Linked DNA regions of Homo sapiens: all the other regions are linked to region 1. The links are contacts of gene promoters, found by promoter capture Hi-C in blood cells and fetal thymus (Javierre and others, 2016). All regions are on one chromosome and are shown on one strand. The core of a region is centred on a gene start or on the middle of the fragment in contact, and the rest is flanking DNA. Distances in the headings are between cores, read along the strand shown. Region 1 holds the start of AP3M1 (adaptor related protein complex 3 subunit mu 1). Region 2 overlaps KAT6B (lysine acetyltransferase 6B). Region 3 overlaps KAT6B (lysine acetyltransferase 6B).

The links. The method cuts DNA at HindIII sites, captures the fragments that hold promoters and counts their contacts. A CHiCAGO score of 5 or more calls a contact.
Region 2: a contact is called between a fragment that was not itself captured here and the fragment with the promoter of AP3M1 in region 1, in 1 of 17 cell types (fetal thymus). The highest score is 5.5, in fetal thymus.
Region 3: a contact is called between a fragment that was not itself captured here and the fragment with the promoter of AP3M1 in region 1, in 1 of 17 cell types (fetal thymus). The highest score is 6.3, in fetal thymus.

Annotation. Positions count from the first base shown.
Region 1 is chr10:74,148,824-74,153,992 of GRCh38, forward strand. AP3M1 (adaptor related protein complex 3 subunit mu 1) reads right to left here and starts at 2,005. Exons shown (of 9, transcript NM_012095.6): 1 at 1,932-2,005. It overlaps ADK (adenosine kinase), which reads left to right and starts at 2,398. Exons shown (of 11, transcript NM_006721.4): 1 at 2,398-2,520. The coding sequence starts at 2,456. RefSeq lists enhancers at 1,929-2,158, 2,569-2,748. The HindIII fragment of the contact is 5,595 bases long and covers 1,694-5,169 here.
Region 2 is chr10:74,966,069-74,971,237 of GRCh38, forward strand. It overlaps KAT6B (lysine acetyltransferase 6B), which reads left to right. Exons shown (of 18, transcript NM_012330.4): 5 at 3,592-3,707; 6 at 3,952-4,033. Among named protein-coding and RNA genes, the nearest start is that of SNORD172, 53 kb to the right of the region's middle. The HindIII fragment of the contact is 1,366 bases long and covers 2,438-3,803 here.
Region 3 is chr10:74,833,446-74,838,614 of GRCh38, forward strand. The region is part of intron 1 of KAT6B (lysine acetyltransferase 6B); the gene reads left to right. Among named protein-coding and RNA genes, the nearest start is that of KAT6B, 9.4 kb to the left of the region's middle. The HindIII fragment of the contact is 1,919 bases long and covers 1,706-3,624 here.

The DNA.
Region 1 (5,169 bases), core at 755-3,254:
TAGGATTACAGGCGTGAGCCACCGCACTCCATCTGCCCATAGTATATTGGTTTGTTTTTTTTTTTTTTGAGACGGAGTCTTACTCTATTGCCAGGCTGGAGTGCAGTGGCGCAATCTCAGCTTACCACAACCTCCGCTTCCTGGGTTCAAGCGATTCTCCTGCCTCAACCTCCCGAGTAGCTGGGACTACAGGCACGTGCCACCACGCCCAGATAATTTTTATATTTTTAGTAGTGACGGGGTTTCTCCATATTTGCCAGGATGGTCTCGATCTCTTGACCTCGTGATCCACCCACCTCAGCCTCTCAAAGTGCTGGGATTACAGGCATGAGCCCTACCGTGCCTGGCCGTATATTATATTAAATGGTTAGAAATAAAAATCATAAGATTAAGTAAGAAAATATAATCTTGTTGCAAAGAGAGCTTTCCTAAAGATACGTAAGGTTTTTTTTTTTTTTTTTTTTTTTTTTTTTTTTTTTTTTTCGAGGCAGAGTCTCGCTCTGTCGCTCAGGGTGGAGTGCAGTGGTGAGGTCTCAGCTTACTGCAACTTCCGCCTCCCGGGTTCAAGGGATTCTCCTGCCTCAGCCTACCAAGTAGCTGGGACTACAGGCGTGTGCCACCACACCTGGCTAATTTTTGTATTTTTAGTAGAGACAGGGTTTCACTATGTTGGCCAGGTTGGTCTCGAACTCCTGACTTTGTGATCCGCCCGCTTCAGCCTGCCAAAGTGCTGAGATTACAGGCGTGAGCCACCGCGCCTGGCCAAGATTCGTAAATTAAGATAATTCTTCATTAACCTCATTCACTTCACTTCTCCTATAGTGTCAATTGAAAGTGTCCCTCTGTCTTTCCCAAATTAATCCTTTCACTTGTAACTTGATCCCATTCCTTTCCTTCTCTTCTGGGAGACAAGACTTTTTCTTGAATCTTCAAATAGTTGCTTGCTTCCTGCCCCCAAATAGATATCTTGTATTCTTTAAAACAAACCCCAAACTTTCCCCCACCTTGCCACTCTCAATAATCTTGCTTCATGCCCCAAATGATGAAGGATTGGTCTACACTTGCAGTCTTTCCTCAGTTACTATTAAAGCATCTCTCTCAAACAGCTCAATGACTTTCTAATTATAAAATCCAACGACCTATTCTGATTTCAGCTTCCTCCTCTGACCATTGCAGCATTTTATGTCATTGATAACTTTCTCCTAAACAAAAATACTTCTTACCCTTTTATATGAAACTTCATCTGTTTTGGGTCTCACCTTGAAAGTCTTTCGGGCTTAATTCTCATAATTTTTTTTAAAGTCTTTCTACAATCTCCATGTAAACCACTGTTTCAAATTCGATAAAACTCAAACTCCATAAAATACCTCCTCCTGTCACTGGCACCATCTTCTTAATCACACATAAGGCTGTAAGTTTCAGGTTCAAACAAATCTACCAAATACAAACAGCCACATCGCCCGTCACTCTTCCACACTCACTGCCACCTGCTCAGCTTAGAACCCCGTTACCTCTCTCCTGAAGAACTGCAACACCCTTCTCACTGCATTCCTCACCCCAGGCTCTTCCAGGCACCACCCGCTAACAGGACGTCTGCTCAGGTCCGTTTGGGGTTTTGTCCTCCAAAGCAGAAACCTGGGACTGAGATTCCTGCCGTCTGTACTCCAGCTCACTATAGAGGGGGAACCCAGTAAGCTTGACCTCCGGGGCTCAGGCGCCTGAGAACACTGGGCTGCAGGTGGACCGCTCCCTTCTGGCCTTGCTGGCGAGAAAGCCCGGAAGGCCGGGAGTGGGGGGGAAGCGAGGCCCGGGCCAACAGCACCAAAGACGCTCCTAGAGCCCAGATCGGAGTCGGGGGCCCCAGCTATTCAGCCTACTCCCGGGTTTTGGAGCTGTCCCCAGTCCACAGATTTCCCGCCCCTCACACTCACCCCAACACCTGTGCCAGTCAGTGATTCGGCGCCGGATCCTCTCCTACCGAAGCTGGAGAAGCCGAGAAGGCCGCGAGGACCCGCAGCTGGAGTGCCCAGGAAATTGCCTGATTAACAGCTTCAAAGACACCGACTCTGTCTACCGTATTAGAAATTTTAAATATGCAGGAAGACCGTAAATGAGAGGAAAGACGTCTCTTGAGGCTTAGTATCTAAATCTTCTACATAATCCAGGGCCTAGAAAAATGGTGGGTTTCTCTCCATCTAGATTCAGGCGGTCATCTGCTGCCTAACGCAGTCTGGGGTCCCTCATGGTAGGGGAGGCGGGGTCAGGAATGGGCGGGGCATTCGCTGTTGGTGCCGACGGATAGAGCCAATGATTGTGGATGACAGCGGCACAGAATGGGCGGAGTCTGGAGGGGCGGGATTTGGAGAAGAGAAAGCGGTGATGCGAAGAGGGGGCGGGACCAGAGAGTGGATGGCAGAGGTGGGCTGTAGAGCCAAAGTGGGGTGGGAGCGCGAAGATGGCAGCTGCTGAGGAGGAGCCGAAGCCCAAAAAGCTGAAGGTGGAGGCGCCGCAAGCGCTGAGGTGAGCGCTGCCGGACTTGGGGAGGAGGGTGACGGCGCTGCAAGCAAGCCAGGGCCCACGTGGGGTTGCACGGCCCCGACGCTGGGTGGTGTCTCTCACTGCCAGCTTGGGGCCAACACGCAGGACCTCCCCCAGCTGCCCGCTTGGCCGCGACCCCTTGCCAGACGTTCTCTCCGTTTGGCTGAGTCCCCGCCTGTCTGGTGCAGCTCCGGCTCCAGCAGCCCTTCGCCAGTCGTGGCCCGCAGGGGGACCGAGCTGGCTGACCGCGCCACCTGCGAGCAAGCCCAGGCTGGGCTGGTGCGACCCCGGAGGGTCGGACCGGAGCAGCGTCTGTAGGCGGCCGCCTTCTCTTCCCGGGGGATGGCGGGAAAGAGGCTCGGCAACTGCTGTACACTGGGGCAAAGTCAGAATTCTTGGGGATTTTTCAGAGTGTTGCGGAAGGGCACGTTGACCTTCCTTTTCGTGCACATTCTGAAAGCCCGTACCTTTGAGGACCCTCTACCAGGGACCCAGACCCCTCCGATGCTTTGCAGGGGCAGCATTTGGATGAATGGATAGGAAAGGTTGATTTCTCTTTTTTATTTACACTTTTTGGCAGCAACGGGGACAGTGCTGCCCCTAACACCTGCCTCACATGTGATTGATGTTGCAACTTTTACTTATGAAGAGTCATTTGTTAAAATATCCCTTCCTAATAAGTATAAAGTGAAGCAGGCAGTCTTTGATGATTTGGAAATGTTCGCTGAAAGGCAGCGATTTTTTTTTCCATCTTAAAATAGACATATCAAACTGATTTAAAACTATTAGGACACTCCTGATTAAACAGGACATATCCCATTTCTTCCAGTATCACTCTTCTTCACCTCCAAAGGAAGGAATCACTCACAATTGAAAAGAAAAGGACACTTAGGGGCCTGGTGGTGTGTTCATGCTGCTTTGAATGGAGGGTGAACAAATCCTTGCCAGTTCCTTTAATGTATTCCTACTACCCTCAAAGGGTTAGTGTGCCTACCTTATACCAAGAACATAAACTTTAAAATAAAAACCCTCAGGATATTCTATTTTTATTTTAAATATTCCAACTATATGCAGAATAAAAAGCAACGGCTTTTGAATCAGACCTACCTGAGTTCAAGGCATGTGCTTTCCCTACTCTGCCCTTTATTAGAGTATTTCCTTATAAGGCACCTCCTTCGCCAAACTGGAAGACAGATGCAACTTTTCCCTACCATCCTACTGAACATATAACCCTTAGATTTCCTTAGATTTTTCCTTAATAAAAATTATTATATATAATGCTGATCCATTTTCACTGTGTTTTCCTATTTATTATCTTGTTGGACAGTTCTGTGATCAAAGGAAGGCAAGAATTATGCCTATTTTACAATTGAAGATATTGAAGCCCAAATAAAACAATTAGTACAGGAACAGAAATAGGAACTAGCTGAGCATGTTTTCTTATACCTGCAGTCCTGGTGCTTTGTGAGGCTGTGGTGAGAGCATTCCTTAGGCAACTAAAATTCACTTTATACAATATGAATTTAGTGCCACCTGTAGACATGAAGTTAAAAGATTAGACACTTGAGTACTGGGACAAATCTCTAATTTTGTGGGGAGACATTTTAGGATCGGCTATTATTACTTTTATTATATTAATTTGCTTTCAGACTCAAAGTGTGATAATGCATTGAGTATTTACACTGAATTTATGATGACTTGCTTGACAGGGGATTGCTACTGGTTTTGGTTAAGGAGAATGGATTATAAAGACTTTGCATAATTTAATGTGCAGCATCAGTGGGAACAAATAATGAGATATATTTGTAGATGTCAGGAAAAATATTTAGATTTAGGGATTTGTGAGAATTTGGTCAGCTCTGGGATAATAATTCTCCACCAGGGGAAATTTTGCCCTCCAGGGGACATTTGGCGTGGTCTAGAAAGATATTTTTGGTAGGGAGAGCTATTGGCACCTAGTGGATGGAATTCAGGGGTGCTGCTAAACATGCTACATAGGACAACCCCCACAACAAAGAATTATCTGGCCAAATACGTCAACGGTGTTGAGGTTGAGAAATCTGTTCTAGAGGGAGCATCTGACAAGACTAGTCTGCCTTTCTCAAATATCTATTATTTTTCTAGGCTCGGTTGCTTTTCAGCATATAACAGTTGCTTATAAAGAAAGAATCAGGCTCTGACATGTTTTCACGTGGGATTAGGGGAAAGAAGGGAACGTTAATTGAGTGCTAGACATTATACTATGTGCTCTATATATGTTATCTCTTTTAACCCTCCCAGTGACCTATGAGGTAGGAGCAATGATTCCTGTGTTACAGACGAGCTATTTTGTGATGAAAGAAGTGGAGAAACATTTTTGGGAACTGCTCCCTAGATGAAGGTGTTCCATGATGATCACTTATATTTAAGACAACTTAGTTTTCTTTTCTCTCCTTTGGAAATCTCATCCAAGTTCATTTCTTTAGCGATCGCCTCTTAAGAGGCTACAGTGCCTTCCAAGGCTTGTTGAGCACGTGCCAAGTCTTTTCCTTCAGTTTGTCTTTCAAGTACATGCTATTTTAGACATGGTGTTAAAAACTGGATATATATAGAGAGAGAAAGAGGTAAGGCACAGGTACCATCCTCTTGGTG
Region 2 (5,169 bases), core at 1,871-4,370, 820 kb after region 1:
AGGACCGAGATCCTGGTTTTCTTGCTGTCAGGTGAAGGTCATGGCCAGGTTCTACAGGCCACCCACATTCCCCGGCTTGCAGCCCCCTCCCCATCTTGAAAGCCTGTGATAGCAGGTGGAGTCTCTCTCATGCTTTGAACCCTTCCTCCTCCTTTTGCCATTTCATTTCTAACCAAGTCCGTAAAAGGTTCTCTGCTTTTAAGGATTAATGTGATTAGATCAATCATGCCCACTCAGATAATCCAGGATAAACTCCCCATCTCTAGGTCGGTACCCCTAGTCACTTCTGCAGAGTTCTTTTTGCTACAACAGGTATAGTATGTTTACAGGTTATGGGAATTAGAGCACAGATGGCTGGGGCGCTGCTGTTGTTGTGCTTACTACAGAGCCTGTGTTTTTTCTTCCTCAGTACTTTCTCCAAAAAGCTTTTCCACTGGTTTGTAGTTCCATTGGTACTTGTTTAATTTTAAATAGTATTCCTTTGGTTTTGCTAGATAAAACTATTGTAAGCTACTAGTACTTGACAATGTATTTGTGTAAAATTGAATGAGTGAATGAATATGTATTATGGCTCTCAAATCTGATAAATTGCAAAATACAATAGTAAAACAAACTCCAGAAAGACAAAGCACCATGAAACGTGTCAACAGAGAGAACAAGAATTTTAGAGGAAATTAGCTGGACGTGGTGGGGTGTGTCAGTAGTCCCAGCACTTTGGGAGGCCAAGGCTGGTGGATTCTTGAGGCCAGGAATTCAAGACCAGCCTGGCCAACATGGCAAAACCCCATCTCTACCAAAAAAATACAAAACAATTAGCCGGGCTTGGTGATGCGTGCCTGTAGTCCCAGCTACTCGAGAGGCTGAGGTGACAGCACTGCTTGAGTCTGGGAGGCTAAGGTTGCAGTGAGCCGTGATCATGCCACCGCACTCCAGCCTGGGCAACAGAGTAAGACCCTGTCTCAAAAATAAAAAAATAGGCTGGGCGCTGTGGCTCACACCTGTAATCCCAGCACTTTGGGAGGCTGAGGCAGGTGGATCACAAGGTCAGGAGATCAAGACCATCCTGGCTAACACAGTGAAACCCTGTCTGTACTAAAAATACAAAAACAAAATTAGCCAGGCATAGTGGCGGGCGCCTCTAGTCCCAGCTACTAAGGAGGCTGAGGCGGGAGAATGTCGTGAACCTGGGAGGTGGAGCTTGCAGTGAGCCAAGATGACGCCACTGCACTCCAGCCTGGGCAACAGAGCGAGACTCCGTCTCAAAAAAAAAAAAAAAATTAAAGTGTTAGAGGAAATTGTTGAGTTTATGAAATCGCTAAACCAGAGGTAAGGAATTACTTGATCAGTAGCATTGCTTTCCTTTATCTAATTACTATAGATTGTGCAGTAGTATATCAAGACACGTTACGGTCTTTTGTGTTATTTTAAAGTTGGCCATGAGAAAATAAAATGGAAATATTTCTTCATCCCTCAGCATCCTTTACAGAATCATAGAAATTTAGAACTGTAAGGGATCTATGGCCAATTCTCTTGAGCTAAATAAAGGTAAGATTGCTGCCTAAAGGAAAGATAGGCTGAAGATTTTAGAATTTGATAGGGTAGCTTAAATAGTAGTAGTTGAGATACAGTATTGCTTAAAGTGAGAGAAACCATTAAGAGAAAGAATATTCCTTGCCCCTGATTGAAAATGGCTGAAATCCACTAATTTTCAAACTGCATAATTATTAAAAAGTCTGTCTTTCATAAGATACCTGTGAGAATAAATAGTAAGCTGTAATATGATGTGAATTACCTTAGTTACTGAATATTAAGTCACAAAGTACAAAAGCAGATTTGAATGTAGAGAAAAATTCAGTGCGTGAAATTGAGGTCATATGTGCCCATGATATATGCCTTACAGGAAGTAATAAAAAAGAGGGGGGAAGTAAGTGGTATACTTTTAAGCTGATGGGATCCATTTTAAGGGTGGAATTTAAATTGCTGTTCTTTAAAAGTTAAGTTTTTACCCTCCTCACTATATAAGGGGACAGAGGGGAGGGCTCTGATCAAAGTAGACCTCTCCCCTCCCCGCTTCAGTGTGCTTCTTAGAAGTCGACAAGCAAGCTGTCTTTGTTTGCCGTTCCTGAGCAGAAAGAGGAGATTGATACCATTTTTATCTATTCAGACTTTTTCCTTGCATTCATTTGAATGAGAGAAGCCTCATAAAAGAACAGTGTCACAGGTTAAATGCATCTGCCTGGGTGTCTCTCCTGCCTGAGGTCATAATCCTGTGACAATATTTTATTTTCTCAACATCTTAAATACAGATGTTTAGAGTTTTTTTTTTTTAACTCAGGAATAGTGTGCTTTTATTAACGGTATTGGTGATTGATTTTGAATGTTTTTACTTCAAAAAGCCAAATCTCCTGGTGGGTGGAATTTTATGAAGCACCTGTTAAGCTTTAGGGAGGAGGACCTTTTTGGCAGCAATCCAAAATACATATTTAAACAATGAGCCTGCCAAAGTCAGGAAATTATAAAACAGTTTTGAAATTGCAGAATCTGCTTTTTTTTATTACCCCTCAGGTTTCCTTTGCAGCTTGGTTGTAAGTTCTTTCACATGGGATTTACTAATGTTCTTACTATTTAAAGACCAGGTTTAAAAAAATAAAATCAAGTTTGGAGATCTCTTCGGGTTTATGTGATAAAAGACCATTAGATTTTAAACTGTACAGCCTTCCAAAGAATCTAGGCTCACGCTCCGCACACCTCTTGGAGGAATCTATTACACACTGGCTCATGGCTGGCTCCTTTGAATGGCATTGCCCCTCAGGGTCTCCAGTTTTCCTCTGTGAAGTGAGCAGTAAGACCTGGTGTGTGGAGCGCTGCTAGGTGAAAAGTGTGCCCCAAACAGGAAAATGGGGGAACCTGCTGAGGCCACACTTCTTGGTGGGTCCTGTTTAACCTGGATCTCTCAGCTTCTTAACTCTGTCTCTCAAATTCACTGTTTTCTGCTCCTGCTTCCAGAGTTTAAACTCAGTGACCCAGGGGCAAGATGGCAATGGAATATCCTCTGTCTAGCCCAGCAATGGGATGTTCTTTGTGTGCTATTGGATTTGGGTGGGGGAGGGCATCTGTAGTTATGTTAAGCAGCCTCAATTTTTTATTTAGTTATCTGTTGAGTTTTATGATTTCATCACACACAGAGAGCAGGAATTGTTTGAACTTTGGCAACTCCCCTCAGTGTGTGGCAAACCAGGACCCCCTGGGTAGATGGTGGTTGATGAAGACGGCAAGTACAGGTGCAGGAGTAAGAATGCCTGAGCCTGTGTTATCTTCAAGTTCTCAAAGGCTTCAGATTGGAATTGGTATAAATTAAGTTCTCTTAGGGAAAACATTCGTACAGTCATTTTGTTACATACAGGGAAAGAAGGCAAGGGGAAAAGGCAGAAAGGAAAATCTGTAATTCGGATTCTCTGATCTGTTGGCATTTTCAAGTTCCTAAGGTTCATTGGCTAGCCTCATCAGCTATCTATTAAATATTAGGGAATGGGAGTTTAAAAAAGTCAAAGGCACCATTCCCATCAAGCAATTTGCTTTTTATTCTCATAGGACACCCATCCTGTTTGAAATTTTGTCCTGAATTAACAACAAATGTAAAGGCCTTAAGGTGGCAGTGCATCGAATGCAAGACATGCAGTGCCTGTAGAGTCCAAGGCAGAAATGCTGTAAGTATGGCTCCCGTAATCCGCCTCCAGGTAACTCGCTAATTTCCAGTGTTAAGGTGTTTTCATTTTTATAGAGTATGGCTACTTTCTTTCTAAAGCTTTAAATACACATGATGTCAAACTGCAACCAGGATCTTGGTGCACTTTCCTTATATTGTATTAATGTTAATCCAGTAACAAAAGAATTTTTGGCCTTTTACAGTTGGTTTCAGTCTCAATTAGTCTCTAATATGTTATATTACAGGATAATATGCTTTTTTGTGATTCCTGTGATAGAGGATTTCATATGGAATGCTGTGACCCACCACTTTCCAGAATGCCAAAAGGTGAACTTCTAAACTGTACTAAAAATGTATTTTATTACATATTGGTTAGCTTTGTCCTGAGGTCTGACAGCTCAGAGGTATACAGGTTCTTTAAGCATTTTTTTCATCCCTCCCACCTTCCCTATACTTCTGAGTTTAGCACAGGTTGTGAATAGAGGAGTATAAAAGCATAGAAAAAAATACATATATATATGTGTATATATATACATATATATAAAATAAAGGCTCTAATTCAGACCCAGGGATGAAAAGACCATCTCTCTCTCCAAACCATTCCCCTATTAGAATAAGATTAGATTATTAAGGTCAAAAGTTTAGAACACTTTCCATATTATTCAGCACAGTGTTAAGAGCTTAACAAATTTTATATTTTTGAGGATGATAGTGACTCCAAAGTCCTACAACAGGAAGCCATCACCATTTTCTTGGCCATTAGTTGATATTTTGAACACGAGCATCTGAATGATCTTATAGCTGATTGTGTCTGATGGAATGTGGATTTTCTTCTGTTTATTGTGTAAATCAGCTAAGCTCAGCCTTTTCCCCTCATTTTGCAATATATTAAACATTTAAAAATAACTTTGCCTTTTTATTATAAAATCCATAATTTACATTGTGGAAGATTTAAAAAGTACAGATAGACAAAAAAGGAATAAAAATAAAAATGAATTGGAAATTTCCTTCTCTGCCTTCACATACCCTTTGAAGGGAAATGGAACATTCTGTACATGTTTTTGTAATGTACTTTTTCCTCCCTCTTAATAGATTATAAGCATCCCCTACATCATTAAATATTCTCCTAAACATAGTTTTTAATAAGTATGTAGAACTCCATAGTATAGAGCAGGGATTACAAACCTGGCAACTATGGGTCACAGATATGCTTTGTTGGTACAATATTTTTACAAGTTTGAATCTGAGTCCTCTGGGTGGTGCGTGTGTGCTCCAGTTTGCCACAATCTCACTACTCCCTGCTGTCTTACGTTCCAATTTGCTTCAGTCACATACATTATACAATCTAGGTCCTTCCTGGAGGTATTTGATTTTCCAACCCTCTATATAAATGAACTCTAATTTATTTAACCAGTCCCTTAGGGTGGATATTACAAATGTTTCCAATTTTTTCCATCCACAAT
Region 3 (5,169 bases), core at 1,415-3,914, 690 kb after region 1:
ACAGTGTGATTAAATTTTAGAGACTGAAACTATTGAGCACTTAAATGCAGGGATAACTATGCAAACCTAATTCATGGGTTTCACCAGGAGATTTGGGACCTGTCTCTACTAATTTATGATGATGATGTTGAAACTAATCTTTGCTAGGGATTATGGAAACCATAATAGTTTATTGATGGTTCAGTTATTGTTTGTTGAAGCACATTTACACAATTATAGTTTAATGACATAACAAGGATATTGTCAACTAGGAGAGCATGACATGAAAAATTAAACTTGCAATTAATATAATATGTATTAGTTGAAATGATAATTTTTATGGTGATTTAGCCTCTTAGAAATCCTTGGAAAACATTATTAGCTTATGAATTGAAAACTCTCTTTGTTAATGAGTAGTGGGAAAGAACTTAGTGTTACTCTAAAAAGATGGGGAATTAAATATTCAGTTCAACCAGCGTTTTATTGAGTGCCTGCTCTGGGCTTGCTGCTGAGTTAGGCTCATAAATATAAGTTGAACAAGATTGATGTTTGCAGAGATGAAATACTGGTTGCTTTTGTTTTTTCTTTCAATCACCCTTCCCTCCAGAGTAGATGGCTACTATTGCCAGAGTGATTCAAACATTCAACAGGTTTGTGTGTGTATGTGCATGCCCTTCCCTGTGCATTATGGTGTCACCTGCTCCTGCAGTGGCTTCCTATTCATCTGTCACGTTCACACACCACAGCTTGGCTTTTTTCACAGCCAACTTTATTTCTGTTTTTTTTTTTTTTGAGATGGATTCTGGCTCTGTTGCCAGGCTGGAGTGCAGTGGCGCGATCTCGGCTCACTGCATCCACCACCTCCGGGGTTCAAGCAATTCCCCTGCCTCAGCCTTCCGAGTAGCTGGGACCACAGGCATGCACCACCACGCCTGGCTAATTTTTTGTATTTTAGTAGAGATGGAGTTTCACCATGTTGGCCAGGATGGTCTCAATCTCCTGACCTCGTGATCTGCCCGCCTTGGCCTCCCAAAGTGCTAGGATTACAGGTGTGAGCCACTGTGCCTGGCCTATTTCTGTTTTTCATTTTTAAATTATATTTGTCTTTTTTAGAGACAGAGTCTTGCTCTATTGCCTAGGCTGGAGAGCAGTGGCACAATCATAGCCCACTGTGGCCTCAACCTCCTGGGCGGCTCAAGAGATCCTCTTGCCTCGGTCTCCCGAGTAGCTGGGTCTACAGGTGTACACCACCACAGCCACCTAATTTTTTATTTTTGTAGAGGTAGGGTCTTGTTGTGTTGCCTAGGCTTGTCTCGAGCTCCTGGCCTCAAGTAATCCTCCTTCCTTGACCTCCCAAAGTGCTGGGATTAGAGGCATGAGCCATTGTGCCTGGCCCAACTTAATTTCTTTATCCCTTTTGAGCATATACCTGTTCTAGTCAGGCACATGGACTTGGTGTCCCTTTTGTTTGACAGCTCATTCTTAGCTTCTGTTATTTCACTTTGATTTCCTTCATTCATTCCCCGATACATTTATTTAGCAAATAGGCATTGAAACCCTCTTATGATCAAGTTGTGGTCTTGGGAAATCTTAGGGTATACAAAGATGAATCAAGCATGAATCCTGTTTTTAAGAATTTTATAGTCTAGTAGGGGTGACAAGGTTAATACACAAGTAAGCATAATACTAAGTGGGAAATGAATGTCAAAACAGTAAAAAAGCTAAAAGCTTCCTGTTAGACAAAGATGTTTGGGGCTTTTGAGAAGTTGTTTGCACTGGGCCATGAAGGATTTGAATTTGGGCAGAGGGACGGTGGGGCACTTATCCAGGCTCAGCATTATCTTTCAAGGTTCAGTTTCAGTCCCATCCATCCAAGAGATGTTCATCCATCCTCCACGTGGTTTCAGCAAGGTAGTATAGTCACAGTTGTTTCCAGACTTCTTCCTTCTGTAATCAGAGGAACACTTCCTTTAAAGCGAATCTTATGGGGAAGACAAATATATGTAAAACAGTTAAAGTGGAGCTGCACTGTTGGGTTCAAGGTGCTGCAATGGCCCAAAGTTTAACCCACAAGGGGTACCTGAAGGTAATACCCGAAGTAACTCCTTGTCACAGAGATCTAAAGAGCCTAGTTTGAAAACCTCTGGAGAGACAGAAAGAGTTTGGGCTTTGGCATCTGAATTAAAATCCTTCATGACTTAATGGCTCTGAGATCTTGGCTAAGTCAAGCCTGTTTTCCTTTTGTAAAAACAACAATGCTACCTTACAGAGTTGTTTTAAAGTTTACTGATAATCTATGTAAAGTACCTGGACCACAGTAGGTGTCAGGAAATGGTTGGTATTATTATTATTATTATAGTTTAGTGCTTTGTTATTTCTTTTTTTTTAAACAATTTATTGAGGTGAAACTCACATAACATAAAATGAAAAAACCATTAAAAAGTGAACAAATCAGTGGCATTTAGTACATTCAGTGTTGTGTCACCACTGCCACTATCAAGTTCCAAAACATTTTTATTGATCCCAAATAAAACCCCTTACCCATTAAGCAGTTTCTCTAGATATGTCCCTGAGACTCCACCAATCTGTGTTTTGTCTATGGATTTATCTATTCTGGATGTCTCATATGAATGAAATTATATGATGTGTGGCCTTTTGTGTCTGGCTTCTTTCACAGCATAACGTGTTTGAGGTCCATCTACATTGTAGTAGCATGTATCGAAACTTCATTGCTTTTTATAGTTGTATAGTATTCTAGTGTATGGATATACCACAGTTTATCTGTTCATCTGTTGATGGACATTTGGGCTGTTTACACCTTTTGGCTACTGTGAATAGTTTTGTTATGAACATGGGTGTACGTGTACTTATTTGAGTATCTGTTCTCAATTCTTTTGAGTCTATACCTAGAAATGGAATTACAGAACCATATGGTAATTCTGTGTTTAACTTTTTGAGGAACCGCCAAACAGTGCTTTGCTATTTCTTAATTGCTTCTTATATGTTCTGTCTCTAGCTTTGCTTTGTATTCCCCATAGTACCTACCACAGGGCTGCATGCAGGGAGCATCAGCTCGCTAAATATTTGTTGGTTTTTCTTTGATTAGTATTTATAACCTCACCTCCCAGTTCACATGTTTTGGGCCTGAAGCATTGATTTCAGAGGAAATAGATGCATCCAGGATTTGAAAGATAAGAAATATCACCATATGGATGGCGTTTCATGTTGTCAGACAACAGATATTTGTTAACCAAGGACACTATTTTGAGCAACTCTGCCAATAACCTGAGCTGGGTGCTGATAGAAGAAAAATAAGTCAAGGTCCCTTCCCCTAAACAGTTCTGTTCTGTTTCGGAAGATACTGCTTAGATTTGTGGATGCTCACTCAGTTACACAATGGGCTTTGAAAAAATCCAGGTTTTCCAACAGTGATCCCTTTGGGGAAAAAAAAGAAAGAAAAAGCCAGGACTTATGAAAGTAAAATAGTTAAAAATAACTGTTAGCAAGTAAAACTCAGGATGACAAAAGTGTAAACTCTATTATTAATCTTTGTTTTTTTCTACCACTGTTTTTTGCCTCATCCATAATCTCATGACTTGAGTGTTATGACATTGATTTTGAAACAACACACACAGCTTTAGTAAAAGCTTAGAGGAGGCCTCGCATAATACTTATGATCCAGGATATTTTGACTCTTCTTATGCTGACATGAATATTTCTGAATAGTGTTGATGTTTATGTAATACCAGTGAAGCTAAAAGCTCAGTGCTGGACTAAGCATTTCTCTAGATATGTTTAGAATATTTGTAATGAATGATGTAAATAGTGTTATATTATAAGACCGTATGATACAACCATATAATTTACTGATATTTTGTAGTTAAAAATAAAATGATTCACAACCTTAGAAAATAGAATAATTTAATTTGATGTAGCACAAATCCCCAGAATTAATTTAGGATGATTTGCTACCTTTTTGATAGCCTTTTAGTCCAACCTTCAAGTTTTTATAGAAAAAAAATGAAAAGAGAATAATGATTTTAGGGTTTTCGCTTGTGATAGAATGTCCTATCTACATGTGAAGCAAATCCCCATGCTCTGAAAAAGAGAAATAGTGTGGATAATTCCAAATCAGGAAAAAAAAAATCATTTCTATTTGGCTTTTGAATGAATTATGCATTTTTTTTTCCTGTGGATTTGTCTTTCCAGTTAGATACTGCTTAGGCTAAAATGAAATTGGTTTTCAATCTATTCTCTTGCTTATATGAATTTACAGTGGGGCCAGTGGGATGTTGGAAACAAATCAGCCTAAGATTAAAAAATTTGCGGTGGATAATATACAAAGTGGATAATATACATGTGTTTAGTTGAGAATTGGCTACAGATAAGAGACTTCTGATTTTGTTCCTCTCCTAGCTGTGTATTTTTTTTTTTTTTTTGAACACTGTGATTCTGCTTGTAGCAAAGAGCTGCTGAGTTACATCTGCTTCTGCCTAATTAACTCTGTTGGTTGGTGTCAGATGAGAGCTAATTTTGAGATTAAATCGAGGAGTGGGGTGTGTGTCGTGGCTGGGGGAGGGGAGAAGGAGGATCCAAGGTTGCTTGATTGTTTTACGTAAGATCAAAATGCAGTTATTCACAATTGTTCTTTTAAATTTATTTTTTGCTTTTCAAGTAAAAATAATCACTGCTGTCCTAAAATGTGACTTGTGTCAATACATATTTACTATTATGTAAACTGGTACGTTTTTCTTGTAGGTGAGCTTATTGGTCATATCTGGGTAGTCCATTCAGTACCTAGGTGCCTGGTGGCCTTTGGGACAAACAGCGAATGCTGCCCAGGAATGTGAATGCTGACCTTAAAACAACTTTTGACTGTCTTTTTTTCTGATAAATGTTATATCTGTTTGGCTATTTGAGTAGTAGTGGGTTTTTGTTTTTGTTTTGTTTTTCCATGATGAGATTTTTTCTTAGGAATCTATCACAAACCTGATTTTTAAAATTTGAACAGGTCTGGGCTTAGGGATGAAATTTACTTCTATAGGCACTTGGCTGGGTCCTTGGGGCTTCATTTTCTGTCTCAAGTTTCATATTTATAAGAATCCTTCAGTGGTCTAAAAGAATTATTATATCACCAAATGTAGTATAATAACTCATTGGAGCTGTTTGTCTTGAATGGTTGTGGAGATA